Regions from separate parts of the Homo sapiens genome. Here regions 1, 2, 4 and 5 are each linked to region 3. Evidence: promoter capture Hi-C in 16 types of primary human blood cells and fetal thymus (Javierre and others, 2016). All regions are on one chromosome and are shown on one strand. The core of a region is centred on a gene start or on the middle of the fragment in contact, and the rest is flanking DNA. Distances in the headings are between cores, read along the strand shown. Region 1 holds the start of LOC101928372 (a long non-coding RNA gene). Region 2 has its middle 26 kb from the start of ITLN1. Region 3 holds the start of SLAMF7 (SLAM family member 7). Region 4 holds the start of SLAMF6 (SLAM family member 6). Region 5 has its middle 25 kb from the start of ITLN2.

Region 1 (2,795 bases), core at 262-2,761, 190 kb after region 3:
CTAAGCCACTAGCATCCCCTGGCTGGCTGCAAGTCTCCTCATTGGTCTCTCTGCTTCTGCTCTTGGCAGTCTTCAGTATATCCTCAACACAGCCAAAGTCATCCTGTTAAATCAGGCTACCCTCCTACTCAGACCTCTCTGAAGGCTTCTAGTCTTGCCCAGAAGGCCCACAATATCCTACACAATCTGCTCCCATCTTACCTTTGTGCTGTCATGACCTGCTGCTTTCCTCCATACTTATGCAGCTTCTGCTAGCCAAATCTCCCTGCAGCTCCCTGAACGCAGTGAAGATACTCCCATCTCAATACCTTGGCAGTTGCTATTCCCTCTGCCTGGTACTTTATGGCTCAATCCCTCACCTTCTTCAGATCCTTCCTCAATGTCACCTTCTCACTGAAGTCTTCTTTAAAGATCTATTAAAGTTGTAAACCACCACCACCCCCAATATATCTATGTCGCTACTCAACTTTCTTTTTCTCCATAGCACTTTTCAAACTTAACATTCTAGTCTGGGTGTGGTGGCTCATGCCTGTAATCCCAGCACTTTGGGAGGCTGAAGCGGGGGGATCATTTGAGCCCAGGAGTTCAAGAACAGCTGGGCAACATAAGGAGACCTGGTTTAAAAAAATAAAAATAAATAAATAAATAAAAACTTGACATTCTATTATTTATTTTTATAGCATATTGTATATTTCCTGGTACTAGGGTACAATCTCCAGAAAGGCAGAAATGTGTACCTGACTTGTTGCTATATCCCCAGCATCTAGAATATGTTCTGGCACATAATAGGCTCGCAATTAATGCTTTTAAAAGAAATAAACACACAAATTTGTGATTAGAAAACATTCATGAAGCCTGCTGTTAGTTCTAGAGCAGCCACTAAAAGGATAGAAAAAAAGCTTACAATTTTAAAACTAGTAGAGAGAAAAAAACAATGACACAATTGTGTCAGTTTCCTAGGGTTGCCATAACAAATTGTCACAACCTAGGTGGCTTTTTAAGAAATTACTCTATTTCAGAGGTGAGAAGTCCAAAATTAAGGCATCAGCAGGACTGTGCTCTGTCCAAAGACTCTGCAGGAGGATCTTCTCTTGCCTCATCCAGCTTCAGGTAGAAAGCAATCCTTGGGTTTTTTGTTTGTTTGCTTTTGGTTTTGATAGAAATGGAGTTTCACTGTATTTTTTGCCCAGGCTGGTCTCAAACTCCTGGGCTCAAGCAATCATCCCACCTCAGCCTCCCAAAGTACTGGGATTACAGGTATGAGGCACCATGCCTGGCCAATCCTTGGTATTTATTGATTTGTGGCCACATAACTCCCTTCTCTGCCTCCGTCTTCATACAGCTGCCTTCCATCTGTGTGTGTTTCTGCATCTGTGTCTCTTCTCTTCTTATAAGGATATTAGTTATATTGGAATTAGGGCCCACCCTAATCCACTATAACTGCATTTTAAATAGTTGCATCTGCAAAAATCTCATTTCCAAATAAGGTCACATTCACAGGTACCTTGGATTAGGACTTTAACATACCACTTTAGGGAACACAGTTCAACTCACAATAGCAATCATCAGTCTTGGTCTTGAATTATGTCTATATTCATACAGAATGCTCAGCAATGCTATGATCTGAACATTTATGTCCTCTCAAATTCATATGTAGGTTTGTTAATATCCTGTTTAGAATTGTTGCATATACAGTCATGAGGGTGGTTGGCTTATAATTATCTTTTCTTGTGATACTCTTGTGAGATTTTCATATCAAGGTTATGCTGGATACATTGTTAGAGGAGCAGCCCACAAGACCACCCTCACTTCTGACACCGATTGCAAGGTTGGGGTCCCCCAATATCCTCCTCCTCTCTGACATTAATTGTCAGCTTGGGGGGACCCCAAGACCACCCGTGAGTTTAATAATTCACAAGACAAACTCACAGTGCTCATGGAAAGTTACGGTTTATTGCAGCTAAGAATACAGGTTAAAATCAGCCAAGGGAAGGGGTACATAGGGCAGAGTTCAGGAAAGCTCTAAACACAGAACTCCCAGTTGTCCTTTCCATGAGTTGTGGACAGTGTTAATTTCCTGACATCCAGTGTGTGATAATACTCGCAGAATATTGTCAACCAGGGAAGCTTACTCAGGCCAGTTTATTAGGCTCAATCACATAAATCTGGTCAGCTGCCCTCAGTCTCCTAGCCCTTGCAAAGTTTGAGCTGATACCACTGTTCTGGTGTGGGGTTTTCATGAGGTTGCAGTCACATGGTGGCTGGGGTTGGGATAATCTTTAAGACTCTTTCTCTAACATGTCCGATCCCTGGGTGGGCAGACTGAAACAGCTACAGAAAGAAGCATATATGGCTTCTTGGGCATCTTTCTACTTCTATATGATCTTTTCACATGGTCTCTCCAGCATAGCAGCTTCAGGATAGTGGACTTCTCACTTAATAAATCAGGATCCGAAGGCACAAGTCCTAAGAAAGAGAAAGCCAGGAAGAAGCTGTATCATTTTTTAGGATGCAGTCTCAGAGGTCACACTTCTGCCATATTCTTTTCATGAAAACTTAGTCACTAAGCCCGCCCAAATTTGGTGGGGTGGGGGGAATTACCAAAGAATTGGCAGGCTATATGCAGAATATGCCATATCAGTGAATTTTCTATGTCAGAATGATCTTTCCAAGGTGAAAAACAATACTGGGTCAGGGTTGGTCTCTGGATTTTGAAAGCAACACATATAACATGTGAGCCTGCTGCTTTCATCTAGGCCAATTTTAAGTGGGGCACAAAGCAAGAAAAGCCTCCA
Region 2 (4,597 bases), core at 1,940-4,439, 170 kb after region 3:
CCAAGTGGGATCAGCTCAAGAACATGTTTACTGGAATCATATTCTGAATCCCACTGTTGGAAATGTTATTATGTGGTGGGATGCTGACCCGCCTTTGTCATCTAATGATACTTCTTGGATGGGAGGTCGATGGATGCCCCTGTCTTACCCCTTAACTGAAAATTTGGGATGGATTAAACTCAATGACTCCTTGACTTTATTGTCTAGCAACCCCCTTCTTTGTTTTTCTACAATAGCCCATGATAAGCACATTACTCTTATTCCTCTGGAGTATCTTTACTGTCACCTCAAAAGGGATGCCAAGCCCGCAAACTTGACCTTTATTTCTGCTGTTACCATTAATCTCACTAAGGTCTCTAATGAAGCTACACAAGTGCCTAGTCTTCTTATATGCTGTCTGAGAAGGGACTGGCAATGTAAGTTTGAGGCTGTCCAGTGTGAACCCCATGCAGACAACCTGCGCCACGACAAGGGCCTCTGCTTAATAATGGCACCTTACTTGATTGGGGTCCCCATGCTAATCTTATGTCTGCAAATCAGACTATTGGATTTGGGAGTCCTCCAATAGTTCCATCACCTGGTCAGAGTATGGGCTTTCAGGACCAATATTACAACTAAAAGGGAAGCAAGCTTTAAGCCCTGCTCATACCCAAATTTGGAGACTAGGTCTTCCCTTTTTTGAATGCGTTGTTTTGTATGGTGATTACATTTACAGCAGTGGCAACTATACCCTCTCCTTGCACAATAATGTTACTGATACAGTCCTGATTTGTACTACACACCCCTAGATAATTTTGTCTGGGCAGGGTATTCCTAACATAGAACAGAATCAATCCTTATATAGTATTACTTTCTCTTCCAGTAGTTGGTACGCTACATGCTTGTCTCATCAAAATGTTACATAGTTAAATATAACCTATGGCATGATCCTAAAATGGCATGTAGAATTGTGGCTCCCTGTAAATTTAACCCTACGGTTATTTAGAAAAGCACTATCTCATACTCAAAAAAAAGATTTTTGGCCACTTTAATTGCCTTTTTTGTCTCAGCTATTATTATACTGTGTCCGGAACTGTTTCCTTCTGGTGGGTTCTTGGTCTCGCTGACTTCAGGAGTGAAGCCACAGACCCTCGTAGTGAGTGCTACAGTTCTTAAAGATGGTGTGTCCAGAGTTTATCCCTTCAGATGTTCAGATGTGTTCGGAGTTTCTTCCTTCCGTTGGGTTCGTGGTCTGGCTAACTTCAGGAGTGAAGCTGCAGACCTTCACAGTGAGTGTTACAGCTCTTAAAGGTGGCACATCGAGTTGTCTGTTCCTCCCGGTGGGTTCGTGGTCTCACTGACCTCAGGAGTGAAGCCGCAGACCCTCGTGGTGAGTGTTACAGCTAATAAAGATAGTGTGGACCCAAAGAGTGAGCAGCAGCAATATGTATTGTGAAGAGGGAAAGAACACTTCCACACAGTGGAACAGGACCCAATGGGGTTGCGGCTGCTGGCTCTAGTGGCCAGCGTTTATTCCCTTATTTGGCCCCACCCACCTCCTGCTGATTGGTCCATTTTACAGAGTGCTGATTGGTACATTTACAAACCTTTAGCTAGACACAGAGCACTGATTGGTGTGTTTACAATCCTTTATCTAGACAGAAAAGTTCTCCAAGTCCCAACAGGACCCAGAAGCCCAGCTGGCTTCACTTCTCAATACTAGCAACTGCCGCTACTACAGCTGTTTCTCTGACACAATCTATTCACACAGCCTTGGTAGCAAACCACATGGTATACAAAGTAACCCATGGATTTCAAGAACAAGTAAATATTGATAAAACTATTTTGTCTCACCTGGAGGCTCTTAAAGCCGCTGTTGAATGGCTGGGGGATCAGCAGCAGGTATTCATTACTTGTCAAAATTTACATTGTGATTGGCAATATAATTCTATCTGTGTCACACCTCTGCCATATAATAGCTCCCAATATACTTGGGAGAGAGTGAAGGCGCACCTACAAGGGGCTTATCAGGACCACTTATCCTCTCAAATTTCTACTCTTGAGTGCGAGTTAAAGAAACAACTTAAAGAATGATCACAGCAGGCCAGGCGCGGTGGCTCATGCTTGTAATCCTAGCACTTTGGGAGGCCAAGGCGGGCAGATCACGAGGTCAGGAGATCTAGACCATCCTGGCTAACACGGTAAAACCTCATCTCCACGAAAAATACAAAAAATTAGCCGGGCGGGGTCGCGGGCGCCTGTAGTCCCAGCTACTCGGGAGGCTGAGGCAGGAGAATGGCGTGAACCCAGGAGGCAGAGGTTGCAGTGAGCCAAGGTCGTGCCACTGCACTCCGGCCTGGGCAACAGAGCGAGACTCTGTCTCAAAAAAAAAAAAAAAAAAAAAAGAATGATCACAGCAATTACAAACAAATATCCTTCAGCAATTACAAGAAGGTTTTCAATGGTTGAACCTGAACACTTAGTTGTCTGGATTAAACATACACATTTGGGTGATGGCCACTATACCTATTCTTTTTTGTATCTGTTTGCTAGGCATCTGCAAATGGCTCTGTGCTGCCCCCCGCCCACGCATCTATGATCAGGAAAGAACGATAGAAGCTTACCTTGCATTAGATAACCAGCATGCTCTAAGAATTAAAGAAGGGGGAGATGTGGGGGGTGCACAGCAACATATTCAAGCTTATGTGCAAGGCATTTGAGGTCGAGGCATGGGAAAATACTGAGGCACTGTGTGTATGTTGTTTGCGCATGAGACTGAAATTCCTTGACCCTGAAAACAGGGCAAGGAACGGAATGTGTGATAAGGAACTGTGTAATAAGGAGTTGTGTGATAAGGAGGGCTGAGAACAGCCTCCTAAGAATGTGGTCTGAGTGCTTTTAGATGTAACAAATAAGGCTATATGTGCCTCGTGACCAGACCGCAAATCGTTACCTAGCCAATGTCTCGTTTGTCTAAATTGTAGTTTAAGAAGCCCTCTCAATAAATACTTGGCTTACCCATCTTAAAGCAGCACTCTCTCAGAAGAGCTGCTACTTGTCCCGCTCAGCTGGAATTGTCTGAATACTTCATTCTCGGTGTTCGCTGCAGCTACAAGCTGCAGACCTTGTTTCTTATTCTGCTCTTAACAAATTACCACAAACGTGGTGTCTTAGAACACAAATTTGTTGTTTTAAAGTTCTAGAAGTCAGAAATTCAAAATGAGCTTTATGGAGCTGAGAGGTGTTGGCAGAGCTGTTTCTTCTCAGGGCTCAGGGAAGAATGTTTTCTTTTCCAGATTCAAACACCACCCACACTCCTTAGCTCATGGCTCCTTCCTCTATCTTCAAAACACATCACTCTAACCTCTGCTCTGATCATCGCATTTCCTTTTCTGTACCCTCTGCCTGCCTTCTGTACCCTTGTTTGACCCTTTGCCTGCCTTTAAAGGACTCATGTGATTACATTGAGCCCACCTGGATAATCCAGGACACTCCTCTCATCTCAAAATCCTTAACTTAATCACATCTGCAAAGTCCCTTTTGCCATCTAAGATAACATATCCACAGGTTTCAGAAATTAGAATGTGGACATCTTTGGGGGGCCATTATTCTGCCTTCCATACCCTTTACTGTAGATTTGAACATTTTCAAAATAAAGAGTAAGGAAAATGTCTAGAAAATTAGAGCAATCAAAATAAATGTAGGCCTGTAACTCTTTGTGAAGCTTTGCGAAGGCCCTTCTTAGGAGCTAACCTTGGAGTCCAGGAAGCCTCGCAGGGGAACCAAGGCTAAACAGAGGTTCACAGAGGACTCCTGAAACCAGGAATACATCCTCCAGTCATGCAGTCCAGCATGGTTAATGAAAGAAAAAGCACAACTCTTCCTTCAAAAGCCCACTGCTGAGCCAGGTATGGTGGCTCAGAACTGTAATCCCAGCTACTCTGAAGGCTGAGGTGGGAAGATTGCTTGAGCCCATGAGTTTGAGTCAACCTGGGCAAAATAGCAAGACCCCATCTCAATTTTTTTAATAAAATTTAAAAAAACTTTTTTTGAGATGGAGTCTCACTCTGCTGCCCAGGCTGAAGTGCAGTGATGCGATATCAGCTCTCTGCAACCTGCACCTCCCAGGTTCAAGTGATTCTCCTGCCTCAGTCTCCCAAGCAGCTGAGATTACAGGTGCGCACCACCACACCCAGTTAATTTTTGTATATTTTTTAGTAGAGATGGGGATTCACCATGTTGGCCAGGCTGGTCTTGAACACCTGACCTCAGGTGATCCACCCGCTTCAGCCTCCCAAAGTGCTGGGATTACAGGTGTGAGCCTGTGGAGAAAAGAAAGAGAGATCAGATTGTTACTGTGTCTGTGTAGAAAGAAGTAGACATAAGAGACTCCATTTTGTTCTGTACTAAGAAAAATTCTTCTGCCTTAAAATGCTGTTAATCTGTAACCTTACCCCCAACCCTGTGCTCCCTGAAACATGTGCTTTGTCAACTCAAGGTTAAATGGATTAAGGGCTGTGCAAGATGTGCTTTGTTAAACAGATGCTTGAAGGCAGCATGCTCCTAAAGAGTCATCACCACTCCCTAATCTCAAGTACCCAAGGACACAAACACTGCG
Region 3 (4,370 bases), core at 1,871-4,370:
GTGTCAAAAATCACTCATCATAACAAGAACCAGGACAATCTTGACTTGAATGAACAAAAGGCAATCAACAGACACCAAAACCAAGACAACACAGACGTTAGAATTATCTTACAAGGATTTTAAAGAAACCATAGTAAAAATGCTTCAACTAGCAGCTATGAACACATTTAAAACAAATAAACAAAAAAACTAGAAAGTCTTTAAAAAAAGAGTAGAAGATATAAAGAAGAACCAAAGGGAAATTTTAGAATTGAATAATACAATGACTGAAAGGTAAAACTAATTGAATGAGTTTAATGAGCTTAATAGCAAAATGGAGGCCAGGGCCAGTGGCTCATACTGGCAATCCCAGCACTTGGGGAGGCCAAGGTGGGCGGATCACCTGAGGTCAAGAGTACAAGACCAGCCTGGCCAACATGGCAAAACTCTGTCGCTACCAAAATATAAAAATTAGCCAGGTGTGGTGGCGGGTGCCAGTAATCCCAGCTACTTAGGAGGCTGAGGCAGGAGAATCGCTTGAGCCCAGGAGACAGAGGTTGCAGTGAGCTGAGATCGTGCACTCCAGCCTGGGCAACAGAGTGAGACTCTGTCTCAGAAAAAATAAAAAAATAAAAAATTGCAAAATGGAGATGAAAAAGGAAAGAATCAGTGTACTTGAAGATAAACAATAGAAAATACCCAATCTGAAAACAGAGTGAAAATAGGCCAAAAAAAAAAAAAAAAAAAAAAAAAAATGGAGCCTCAGAGCCCTGTGGGAGAAAAACAAAAGATTTATAACATTCATGTCATCAGAATTTTAGGAGAGAAGCGAGAATGTGAGGCTGAAAAAAAAGTATTCAAAAAATAATGAAATTTCCCCAAACTTAGCAAAAGGTAAAAACCTACAGATTCAAGAGACTCAATGAATCACAAATAAGAGAAACCCAAAGAAATTCACACCAAGACACATTATAATCACACTTCTGAAAACTAAAGACAAACAAAAAACTTTTAAAACAGCTAGAGAAAAATGACACATTACCTACAGGGAAAACAACTTAAATGACGGCTGATTTCTCACTGGAAACCATGGAGGGGAGGAGTGTCATGACACTTTTCAAGTGTTGAAAGAAAAAAAACTGTCAACCTAGAATTTTATACCCAGGAATGAGGGTTAAATCAAGACATTCTCAGGTGAAGGAAAACTAAGATAATTTGTTATCAGCAGGCTTATCATAAAAGAATTCCTAAAGAATATCTTGAAACAGAAAGAAATGATTAAAGAAGAAAACTTGAAGGCTGGGTGTGGTGGCTCATACCTGTAATCCCAGCACTTTGGGAGGCCAAAGTTGGTGGATCACCTGAGGTCAGGAGTTTGAGACTAGCCTGGCCAACATGGCGAAACCTGATCTCTACTAAAAGTACAAAAAGTAGGTGGGCATGGTGGCATGAGCCTGTAGTCCCAGCTACTCAGGAGGCTGAGGCAGGAGAATCGCTTGAACCCAGGAGGCGGAGATTGCAGTGAGCCAAGATCATGCCACTACACTCCAGCCTGTATGACAGAGCAAGACTTCGTCCAAAAAAAAATAAAAAGAAGGAAACTTGAAACATTAGAAATAAAGAAATAACAATGAAAAGAGTTAAAATATGGGTAAATGTAATGGATTGTCCTTCTCCTCTTGAGTGTTCTGAATTATGTTCAACAATTGAAGCAAAACTTATAATCTTACCGATATGGTTCTCAATGAATATAGACAATATATTTAAGACAAGTATAAAGATAGACTAATAAAGAAACCTAATATAGGTAAGTTTTCTATACCTAGTTCAACTGGTAAAATGTCAACACTGATAGGTAGATCAAAAGTTATGTATGTAAAATGCAATATGTACAGCAACCAGTAAAAAAACTCTTCAAAAAGATACATTATAGATAAATCAAAATGGAATTATAAAAAATATTCCAGTAACACACAGGATGGCCAGGAAAGTGAAACAGAGGAACAAAATAAACAAACAAAAGCCCAGAAGAACAAAGAGAAAATAATAACATGGCAAACTTAAGCTCTGATATATAAATAATTACATTATGTAAGTCAGTTAAATAGAATAGATAGCTCCAGAATATACCCACACAAGTATAAGTGCTGATTTTTGATAAAGATACAAAAGTAATTCAATGTAGGAAAGATCATCTTTTCCATCACATGGTAGTAGAACAATTGAACACCCACAGGCAGAAGAAAAAAAAACACGCACATTGTAATCATACTTCTGAAAACCAAAGGCAAACAAAAAACTTTTAAAACAGCTAGAGAAAAATGACACATTACCTATAGGGAAAACAATTTAAATGATGGCTGATTTCTCACTGGAAACCATGGAGGGGAGGAGTGTCATGACACTTTTCAAGTGTCGAAAGCAAAAAAAAACTGTCAACCATATTACCTGATATGGTTCTCAATGAATATAGACAATATATTTAGGTGAATCTCAACCTAAACTTCACACCTTACATTAAAACAGGATCATACATTTAAATGTAAAACATAAAACTATAAAACTTTCAGGAGAAAACCTTTGGACCCTAGTGTGGGTAGAAAAAAAACTGATAAGTTGAATTTCATCAAAATTAAAATTTTTGCTCTGCCAAAGACCCCGTTAAGAAGATGAAAAGACAGGCTACAGACCAAGAGAAAATATTTGTAAACCACATATCTGACAAATGACTCTTATACTTGGAACATATAAGGAATTGTCAAAGCTCAACAGTAAAAAAAATAAAGAATCTGATTATAAAATGGACAAAAGACATAAATAGACATTTCACCAAGGAGGATATGGATATATAGATGGCAAATAAGCACATGAAAAGATGTTCAACATTATTAGGCTTTAGGGAAATGCAAATTAAAGCCACAATGAGGTATCACTACAGCACCTATTAAAACAGCTAAAATATAAAATGGGAATATACCAAATGCTGATGAAGATGGGGAGCAAATAGATCTCTCATAGATTGCTGGTGGCAAGGTAAAATGCTCTATTCACTCTGAAAATAATTTAGCAATTACTCAATCTCACATGTCTGCGGCGTGACCCCTCCTGCTTCTTTAAATATCAGCTGGGGAAGAGGTCTGAGTAATACCTAAGAGGGAAGTGGCTTCATTTCAGTGGCTGACTTCCAGAGAGCAATATGGCTGGTTCCCCAACATGCCTCACCCTCATCTATATCCTTTGGCAGCTCACAGGTGAGTCCGGCCGGATTCTCTTCCACTCTCCTGTCTACCCCATCCTGAATAGTTCCAGGTTTCTTGTTCCACTCTGGGCCTCTGGCTCAACTCGGGAGGCTCTGTGTTCTCATCTAACATTTGCTTTTTATCAATCTCTGATCTCTGATTCTCAGGTCAGGAAGAGACTAGAGAGAGGGGGAAAAATGGCTCTGGGAACTGACTCCCCTGTTGACTGTCCCAGGGATGAAGGAGCTGAAAGAAGTGGTGCTGGGTATCAGAGACCATTTTTCTAATCCAGGTTCTGCCATGAGTTAGATAAGGAATGTTAAAGTTTTCCTGGGCCTCAGAAACTTTATCTTCTAGCCTTCTCTCCTTTTGAGGGCAACTTTAAGAACAAGATGATACTATACAGGTATGTATTTATTTACTTATAAATGTATTTATAAAATTGGTTATGCATAACAGTAATATAAATGGAAAGAATCACTTGAATTTTCTTTCCTTACTCAAGCAATGTAATCAGTCTCTACTTAGAGAACCAACTCATACCATAGGCACTTTATGTTTAATCCCATGGAGGACAGAGGACAGTTCTCCACCTGTCACTGGTATTCTAGTCTTTGAAGATTTTTCTATCCTAAGGGCTCTCAGAAAGGATCAGGAGCCCTATAAGTGAGAAATATCTCTTCTGTCATCAATCTCATGGAGTACTACCATGAGGTCCCCCTATAAGGACTTCACATAACTGCTTCATTATGTGTATCTGAGCCTGCCTGGAGTGATCTGCCCAAGACCACGCAGGCAGCTGGTGCCCCCAATATTTTCCCCTGCATCGCTAAGTGGTCAGCATCAGCAGACTCTTACCCACTTTGAATTCATCAGAAGTTTGTATTTTTGAGAGGTACCTGGGTCTAACCAGGTGGTTCTGGAATAGGCCCTCACTTTAAAAAAAAAAAACAAAAAAAAAACTCCCTGAACGGAAATGATGAGCAGAAATAGAACTTGAGGGAGATAAGGTGGAGGGGTTGGGGAAAATTATAGAGACTTTGAAAGCTACAGGTGTCCATCTGAAATCAGTCAGCGAAAGAGCACAAGTATGAAAAACTGCCATGCAGGTCCCCCTCTGCCCTCCTCCAGAGGCAGCCTGTGTAGTGTACC
Region 4 (4,135 bases), core at 325-2,824, 220 kb before region 3:
AATGCAGAATCTCAGTCCCTATTCCCCAATCAGCATTTTAATAAGATTCCCCCAAGTAATTTATATGCACATTTAAGTTTGACAAATTTCCAACTTTCCATCTATAAAAATCAAAATGAAGAAACAAACGAGATTTATTTTCTCTAGGAAGTCATGATGCTTGATTTTATTTACAATTATTGTTTTGTTCTGTTAGTTTTGCCACCCAGGGCTTGAGTTAAAGGAAATGGGATTATTTTTCAATATGGTTTGTCTTTTCCACTAAATTTTCTAAAAGGAGTCAGGATAGTGCCCAACCCACTTCAAAGAATGTAGGCTGGCATGAGTCATTGTTTTTCATGGTTGTTTCAAAGATTAATTTCATTTGCCCCACATTTTTGCAACAGTGGTCTTCTTTCCCTTCCTAAATCACTCCAGGCTCTTTCCTGCATCACGGCTTTTCACACATGATTCCCTCTGCCCTAAAATCTTCTTCATTTGACTTTTCCTGTTTAACTTTTCACACCCTTTAAATATCAGATGAGATGTTACTTTTCCAGGAAGTCCTTTCTTCATCACTCCGTCCAAAGCAGGTCCCCGTGTTTTTCTCTATGAAGGTGCCCTGCTTATTTTTTTTGCTGGCCTCACATTTTCTAATTATGTACACATTTGTGTGAATGTATGACTGTGTGTAAGCTAAGTAGCATAGTGAAGTGGCTATGAGCACAGACTCCGGAGCCAAGCTTCCTGATTTCCAATTCTAGCAGCCACTTCTCTCCTCCTGGGTCTCAGAACACCTGCATCTGCCTCCTGTAAACTCATTCAAATGTGTTTCTCTTTCTATACCCATTTCCCCCATAAATGTGGGGCAGTGAGCAAGTTACTTTAGTGTTCTGTGCCTTCTTTCCCCATCTGTGAAGTGGAGATTGGAGCACTGTATATTTCATAGGGTCATTATAAGAAGTATTCATGGAAATAGGGAGAAGAAGAGGAGTTTTAACACAAGGACATTCAGAATATTTTATTCTAGAGGTGGAAATAATTTTGCAGGGTGGTAAAAATGAAGCAAAAACTCAAGATTCTGCTCCTAGATCAGGAAGTGGCTCTTGAATGAAGGAAAGAATTCTCTCTCTTTCTGCATTTTATATATATTTCCCAAAGTTCTGTTCTCATTCCAGTTTTCTCCTCAGCTTAACATATCTCTATGCCATTGATTTTTAAGTCTCTAGCCTCAGCTCTACCCCTAGTCCTAAGTTCCCAGGATCCTCCACGTAACTTCCTCATGTATAGCACACTGACATCCTAAAATCAGTAGGTCCAAAATTGAACTCACCTTCCTCCTGTGGCTGCTCTCCACCTTCCAATTTTGTCACTTTCTTTGGCTATCCTGTCTGAAATTTCACTGCCGTCTTTACCATATTTCATCTCTCCCTTTCCTTCTTGATTTATTTCTTCCTACCCAATACACTATTTTACTTGTTTATCTTTTTTTACAGTTTGTCTCCTGCTAAAATGTTAACTCCATGAGGGCAGGAATTTTTGCTTGCTTTGTTCATGATGTATTCATGCAAACTAGAAGAGTGCCAAGCATTCAGTAGGTGCTCAATGAATATTTATTCCTTTCTCATTCCAATTACCAATTACTCTACTTAACTCCATATTGATGGGATCTCTTGCTTCAGTCTCTTCTTTCTCTTATGCTGCTGCCACACTTGTTGAACTGTTATTTTTTCTCATAACTATTACAAGAGCTTGTCGCATGCTGGCTAATGAAATTTGGGCAAATTATTTAAATTAAGTTCACCTCAGTTCTTCATTTTAAAATGGAGATATTAATAGTATAAATTCATAGAATTCTCATGAGACTCATAACGTGTGTACAGCACCTGGCACAATACTTGAAATACAATAAGTGCTCAGTGAATGCTTCCTACTTTTATCTGCTACCCTGGGCTAGCTCTGGACTAGATTTCCATTGGTCTCCTGGACTATCTCTGCCTGAATGCTACACTTTGTCTCCCGTGGACCACTTGTAGTTCCCCAAATGTGATATGAATCTTCATCTTCTCCATATAATGGACAGCAGGAAACAAGAAGCCAGCTGGATCAGTTCATTCTTTTCTCACTGCCATATATAATGCATTGCTGGACTAGCTAGCCCTAATTTGCACTAAAGGAGGGGAGAGATGGAAACCTTTTTTTTTGCAATGAGCAAAAGGTGAGAGGGTTATTTTTGGTGTGTTTGGTTGGGCCCAGAAAATTTGGCTCAACTGAATAATAGGTTTTTAATAATTTAGATGAGGATAGTGAGGTTCAGGAAGGATAAGTAACCTCCCTGAGGTTCACAGTACGATAGTAGATACATTGGTATGAGGGCCCATTTTCTTGGTCTTGGTACTCTTTATAACACAAGATGCTGGTCATAAACCACAAACAGTCTTGTCTTCAAAAGCTTATTTCCTCTGCCCCAGCAAATAACTTTCTTACATGCAGACACAATTGAAATTGTTCACCGACAACCATCTCAGGCTTATCGCATCCAAAGTTGAGAGGAGGTAGTAGTATATCAGGTAACACTGCCAGCGTCCCCTTTCCCGCCCCAATCCCTTGGCAGAGAGCCAGACAACTGTATACAGACGATTTAGGTTGAGCAAGCTGCACAAAACCAGGGAGTCACTCAGTGACTACACCGATCTGGATTGACATTTACCTGGGCCAAAGCAGAAGACAAACAGGAGCGATTGGAACAGCCACAACATGCTTTCCGCGGTGAAGACTGGTGCTTGAGACCTTGAGGCAGTCAATGTTTTTGCCCTTCTGTCATAAACTGAAAATACTTCTGAGACTTCCCCTTCCTCTTAGAGGCGTGGTGACAACTTCTTCCCCTGCACTAAAAATCCTAATTTGTAACTGTGTTAATTTTTTGTTTACTTTTTTCTGAGCTAAGTGCACAAATTTTTTTTTTTTTTGGAAAAGAAGATAAAGTCCTTTATTGCATCTTTCATAAACTTATATGTAAAAGTCTGTAAGGAATTTCCTAAAATCTACTAGAACAAATAAATGAGTTCAGCAAGGTGAAAAGATACAAAATCAAAATATAAAATTCAATTGCAATTGTATATACTAGCTATGAGTAATCCAAAAATAAAATTCAAAAAACAATTCCACTCTAATTACATTAGAAAAAAATATTTAAGTATAAAGCTAAGAAAAAGCCAAAAGAAAACTGATTTTTTAAAATTATACTTTAAGTTCTAGGGTACATGTGCACAATGTGCAGGTTTGTTACATATGTATACATATGCCATGTTGGTGTGCTGCACCTATTAACTTGTCATCTACATTAGATATTTCTCCTAATGCTATCCCTCCCCTTGCCCCCCACCCCGTGACATACCCCAGTGTATGATGTTCCCCTACCTGTGTCCATGTGTTCTCATTGTTCAGTTCCCACCTATGAGTGAGAACATGCGTTGTTTGGCTTTCTGTTCTTGTGTTAGTTTGCTGAGAATGATGGTTTCCAGCTTCATCCATGTCCCTGCAAAGGACATGAACTCATCCTTTTTTATGGCTGCATGGTATTCCATGGTATATATATGCCACATTTTCTTTATCCAGTGTATCATTGATGGGCATTTGGGTTGGTTCCAAGTCTTTGCTATTGTGAACAGTGCTGCAATAAACATAAGTGTGCATGTGTCTTTATAGCAGCATGATTTATAATCCTTTGGGTATATAACCAGTAATGGGATTGCTGGGTCAAATGGTATTTCTAGTTCTAGATCCTTGAGGAATCGCCACACTGTATTCCACAATGGTTGAACTAGTTTACACTCCCACCAACAGTGTGAAAACATTCCCATTTCTCTACATCCTCTCCAGCATCTGTTGTTTCCTGATTTTTTAATGATTGCCATTCTAACTGGCATGAGATGGTATCTCATTGTAGTTTTGATTTGCATTTCTCTAATGACCAGTGATGATGAGCTTTTTTCATATGTTTCTTGGCCGCATAAATGTCTTCTTTTGAGAAGTGTCTTCATATCCTTTGCCCACTTTTTGTTGGGGTTTTTTTTTTTTTCTTGTAAATTTGTTTGAGTTCTTTGTAGATTCTGGATATTAGCCTTTTGTCAAATGGATAGACTGCAAAAATTTT
Region 5 (4,437 bases), core at 1,320-3,819, 240 kb after region 3:
AGGAGCTCAAGACCAGCCTGGCCAACATGGTGAAACCTCGTCTCTACTAAAAATACAAAACTTAGCCAAGCATGGTGGCAGGCACCTGTAATCCCAGCTACTCAGGAGGGTGAGACAGGAGAATAGCTTGAATCCAGGAGGCGGGGGTTGCAGTGAGCCGAGATCGCACCATTGCACTCCAGCCTGGGGGACAAGAGGAAGACTTTGTCTCAAAAAAAAAAAAAAAGTGTAAGTTTCCCCTTAAGTAAGAGAAATTTACATTTGAAAAGAAAATTTCCAGCCAGCTGTGGTGGCTCAAGCCTGTAATCCCAGCACTTTGGGAGGCCAAGGCAGGAGGATCGCTTAAGGCCAGGAGTTCAAGACTAGACCCTGGGCAAGAAAAGAAATGTCCATTAATAAAAGTATCTGTATCAGGAAGAGAGCTAATCTGACACAACTTTAATCACCTGAGAGACTTCTATCTGCATAATCAAGCAACTTTTACTCACCATACATTTCCTCTCCTCACCCTCCTATAATTTGCCTCCACCACCCTATAGAAGCCCCAAGCCCGTATATCTTTCTGTAGCTCAGGATGGCATGTAAACCTCAATCATCTGGCTACTTTGAATCTCTTTTTATTTTATTTTATTTTTTTTGAGAAGGAGCCTTGCTCTGTTGCCCAGGCTGGAGTACAGTGGCAAGATCTTGGCTCACTGCAACCTCCACCTCCCAGGTTGAAGCAATTCTCCTGCCTCAGCCTCCAGAGTAGCTGGGGACTACAGGCATGTGCTGCCATGCTCAGCTAATTTTTTTCTATTATTTTTAGTAGAGATGGGGTTTCCCCATATTGGCCAGGCTGATCTCGAACTCCTGACCTCAAGTGATCCACCCGCCTCAGCCTCCCAAAGTGCTGGGATTACACAGGTGTGAGCCGCCGCGCCTGGCCTTTCATATTTTTGTCAGACTCCCACTTATATATATGTAACTAAGAGAGAAGATTATTTTTCCTCCCCTACGATTGTTTTTTTAGGCTGGGTGCCATGGCTCACAGGCGTATTTGTTCACGCCTGTAATCTCGGCACTTTGGGAGGCTGAGGAGGAGGGAGGATCGCTTCATCTCAGAAGTTCAAGGCCAGTCTGGGCAACATGCCAAAACTCCATCTCTACAAAAATACAAAACTTAGCCAGGCATCGTGGCACATACCTGTAGTCCCAGCTCCCTGGGAGGCTGAGGTGGGAGGATCACTTGAGCCCCGGGGGGTGAGGCTGCAGTGAGCCGAGATCCCACCACTGCACTCCAGCCTGGGCAAAGAGAGAGATGCTGTCTCGAAAAAAAAATAAATAAATAAGATTGTTTTTCTTCTGTTAATCTTATATTAGTTTAATTCTTAGACCAGCTACAGAATCTAGAGGGGTGAAGAAGGCATTTTTCCTTCCCTACACTTAGTTGACATTTCAGCATGCCATTTCTGACTATATAAACCTCTATTCTCAGGAGGAGATGAAAATCTCATGGAGGAGATGAAAATATGCCACCCCAAAATATGACTGTAGGACACCTGAGTATGCCACCCAAAACATGCCTTTTGGGCATAAGGATTATTTTGAGCTGATTATTTTGAGAACTGCAAACATAGAAGTTACCCTTTTGTATGTGAAATCTATATCTCAATAAAGGAAATCTTCCTTTGTAAGAATGATTCCTAAAGCAGAACTACTACATGACTCTCAACTGCATGAGACCAACCTAGTAGAAATGTGAGCTGCAGATTTTGACTTGGAAAAAAAGAACTTTAGGCCAGACAGTGGCTCATGCCTATGATTTCAGCACTTTGGGAGGCCAAGGTGGGAGGATTGCTTGAGCCGAAAAATTCCAGACCAGCCTAGGCAACATAGCTAGCGAGACTCCATCTCTACAAAAAACTAAAAAATTAGCCAGCTGTGGTAGCATGTGCCTGTACTACCAGCTACTCAGGAGGATGAGGTGGGAGGATCATCTGAGCCCTGAAGGTGCAGCAAGCCATGATTGCACCACTGAACTGCAGCCTGGGTAACAAAGCAAGATCCTGTCTCTCAAAAAAAAAAGAACTTTATAGTCCTTGAGAAAAGTACGACCCCAGGCTGGGTGTGTTGGCTCACGCCTATAATCCCAAAACTTTGGGAGGATGAGGCGGGTGAATTGCTTGAGCCCAGGAGTTCAAGACCAGCCTGGCCAACATGGTAAAACCCCGTCTCTACTAAAAATACCAAAAAAAAAAAAAAAAAAATTAGCCAGGCTTGGTGGTGGTCACCTGTAGTCCCAGCTACTCAGGAGGCTGAGGCAGGAGAATTGCTTGAACCCAGGAGGCTGAGGTTGCAGTGAGCTGAGATCGCACTGCTGCACTCCAGCGTGGGCAACAGAGCGAGACTCCGTCTCAAAAAAATAAATAAAAGAAAAAAGAAAAGAAAATTATGAGACCCAGTAGGTTCTGACTCCAAGACAAGATTCAGAAATCCAAAGGGGCACGAGACTGTCGGTAAAGTAAGACTGAGTTATGAGTAAAACTGTCAAGTATTAATGGAAATATGGAGTAATGCTTAGATTATATTTCCTATACAAATTAAAAGCATACTCAACCAGACTGGGCGCCATGGCTCAGGCCTATAATCCCAGCACTTTGGGAGGCCAAGACAGGCAGATCACCTGAGGTCAGGAGTTCAAGATCAGCCTGGCCAACATAGTGAAAACCATCTCTACTAAAAATACAAAAATTAGCCTGGCGTGGTGGCCCATGCCTGTAATCCCAGCTATTTGGGAGGCTGAGGCAGGAGAATTGCTTGAACCCAGGAGTCAGGGGTTGCAGTAAGCGGAGATGGGGCCACTGCACTCTCGCCTGGGAGACAGGGCAAAATTATGTCTCTAAATCAATTAATTAATTAAAATAAATAAAAGCATACTCAGCCAGGCAGTGGGATTACTCCTGTAATCCCAGCATTTTGGGAGGCTGAGGCAGGATTGTTTGAGCCCAGGAATTTGAGACTGGCCTGGACAACATAGTGAGACCCTGTCTCTATTTTTTTGAGAAATTAAAAAAAAAAATTAAAAGTCTATTCAATAGGCATCATCCTTAAGTACAGCTGTATCAGTTCGTAACACAACCACAGACTGAGTGGCTTAAATAACAGAAATTTATTGTCTCACAGTTCTGGGGGCTAGAAATCCAAGATCAAGGTGTCAGCATGTTTGGTTTCTTCTGAGGCCTCTCTCCTTGGCCTGCAGATGGCCATCCTCTTGCTATTCCTCATGCAGTCGACCCTTGGTCTGTATTAGTGTCTTAATCTCTTATAAGAACACCAGTCACATTGGATTCGAGCCCACCCTAATGACCTCATTTAACCTTAATAACCTCTTTAAAGGCCCCATGTCCAAATACAGTCACACTCTCAAAGGTACTGAAGGTTAGAACTTGAACCTAAGGGTTTGAGGGGACAAAATTCAGCCCAAAACACCAGTGTTAGTGATAATATTTGTTACAATTTTTGACATTAAAGTGTAAAAGTCTCCTGGAGGGATCCTATTGGGAAAATCATGTTCCAAATAAGCACAAAATAATTAGAGGGAAAAAGCCCTCTTTACACTGCCTCCCAAAAGACATTGAAAGGGGATAAATCCTTAATCTCAGTAATACTTTTTTTTATTTTTCTTATTTTTTTGAGACGGAGTCTCACATTGTCGCCCAGGCTGGAGTGCAGTGGCCGATCTCGGCTCACTGCAAACTCCGCCTCCCAGGTTCACGCCATTCTCCTGCCTCAGCCGCCCGCCACCTTGCCCGGTTAATTTTTTTGTATTTTTAGTAGAGACGGGGTTTCACTGTGGTAGCCAGGATGGTCTCGATCCCCTGACCTCGTGATCCCCCCGCCTCGGCCTCCCAAAGTGCTAGGATTACAGGCGTGAGCCACCGCGCCCAGCCAGTAATACTTTTTATAATCCCCTTTCTCTTCTCCCTCATTTTCTCCAATCCCGCTCCCCTAACCCACAGAATCCAGTTGCGCACCCTAGTTCCCAGGGCGGGTCCCCAGCCCTCGGCTCTTTGCAATGTAAATTAAGTCAGCTTCCCCGTAAATACCTTGCGCTGGCCTCTCCCAGGCTTTTCAGTTCTGCCCTTTCTATAATTCTGCATCACAAAAGTTCAGAACCAGTCTGGCCAGGATCTACTCTCCCAGAGATGGGAAGTGGGACGCAGTCGCTGCAAGGTATCAGAAATGGGGTCGGGACAGGAGGCGCAGCTTGCAGTGAGCCGAGATAGCGCCACTGCACTCCAGCCTGGGCGAAAAAGCGAGACTCCATTTCAAAAAAAAGAAAAGAAAAGAAAAAAAAAGAAATGGGGTCGGGAAGCCTGGAGGAGGGGACGCGGCGGCGCCCCTGCACTCACCCACACCTCCAAACCCTGCGCAGGGAACATCCCCGCGCGTCCC

Evidence for each region. Contacts are between HindIII fragments. The CHiCAGO score rates a contact against its expected background, and 5 or more counts as called.
Region 1: a contact is called between a fragment that was not itself captured here and the fragment with the promoter of SLAMF7 in region 3, in 12 of 17 cell types (total B cells, non-activated CD4 T cells, fetal thymus and 9 more). The highest score is 10.0, in total B cells.
Region 2: a contact is called between a fragment that was not itself captured here and the fragment with the promoter of SLAMF7 in region 3, in 2 of 17 cell types (total B cells and fetal thymus). The highest score is 6.6, in total B cells.
Region 4: a contact is called between a fragment that was not itself captured here and the fragment with the promoter of SLAMF7 in region 3, in 1 of 17 cell types (total CD8 T cells). The highest score is 5.3, in total CD8 T cells.
Region 5: a contact is called between a fragment that was not itself captured here and the fragment with the promoter of SLAMF7 in region 3, in 8 of 17 cell types (neutrophils, naive CD4 T cells, naive B cells and 5 more). The highest score is 8.3, in neutrophils.

What each region holds. Positions count from the first base shown.
Region 1 is chr1:160,929,712-160,932,506 of GRCh38, forward strand. LOC124904441 (a long non-coding RNA gene) reads right to left here. Exons shown (of 2, transcript XR_007066689.1): 2 at 1,935-2,466. It overlaps LOC101928372 (a long non-coding RNA gene), which reads left to right and starts at 2,754. Exons shown (of 6, transcript NR_110695.1): 1 at 2,754-2,795. The HindIII fragment of the contact is 1,228 bases long and covers 898-2,125 here.
Region 2 is chr1:160,908,840-160,913,436 of GRCh38, forward strand. No RefSeq gene overlaps it. Among named protein-coding and RNA genes, the nearest start is that of ITLN1, 26 kb to the left of the region's middle. RefSeq lists a silencer at 2,640-2,934 and enhancers at 3,903-4,557, 4,558-4,597. The HindIII fragment of the contact is 1,024 bases long and covers 2,678-3,701 here.
Region 3 is chr1:160,736,127-160,740,496 of GRCh38, forward strand. SLAMF7 (SLAM family member 7) reads left to right here and starts at 3,121. Exons shown (of 7, transcript NM_021181.5): 1 at 3,121-3,230. The coding sequence starts at 3,176. It overlaps LOC124904440 (a long non-coding RNA gene), which reads right to left and starts at 3,033. Exons shown (of 2, transcript XR_007066687.1): 1 at 2,957-3,033. The HindIII fragment of the contact is 11,353 bases long and covers 1-4,370 here.
Region 4 is chr1:160,520,455-160,524,589 of GRCh38, forward strand. It overlaps SLAMF6 (SLAM family member 6), which reads right to left and starts at 2,801. Exons shown (of 8, transcript NM_001184714.2): 1 at 2,690-2,801. The coding sequence starts at 2,738. RefSeq lists an enhancer at 2,586-2,635. The HindIII fragment of the contact is 1,709 bases long and covers 721-2,429 here.
Region 5 is chr1:160,977,625-160,982,061 of GRCh38, forward strand. No RefSeq gene overlaps it. Among named protein-coding and RNA genes, the nearest start is that of ITLN2, 25 kb to the left of the region's middle. RefSeq lists silencers at 875-1,169, 941-1,141. The HindIII fragment of the contact is 7,479 bases long and covers 1-4,437 here.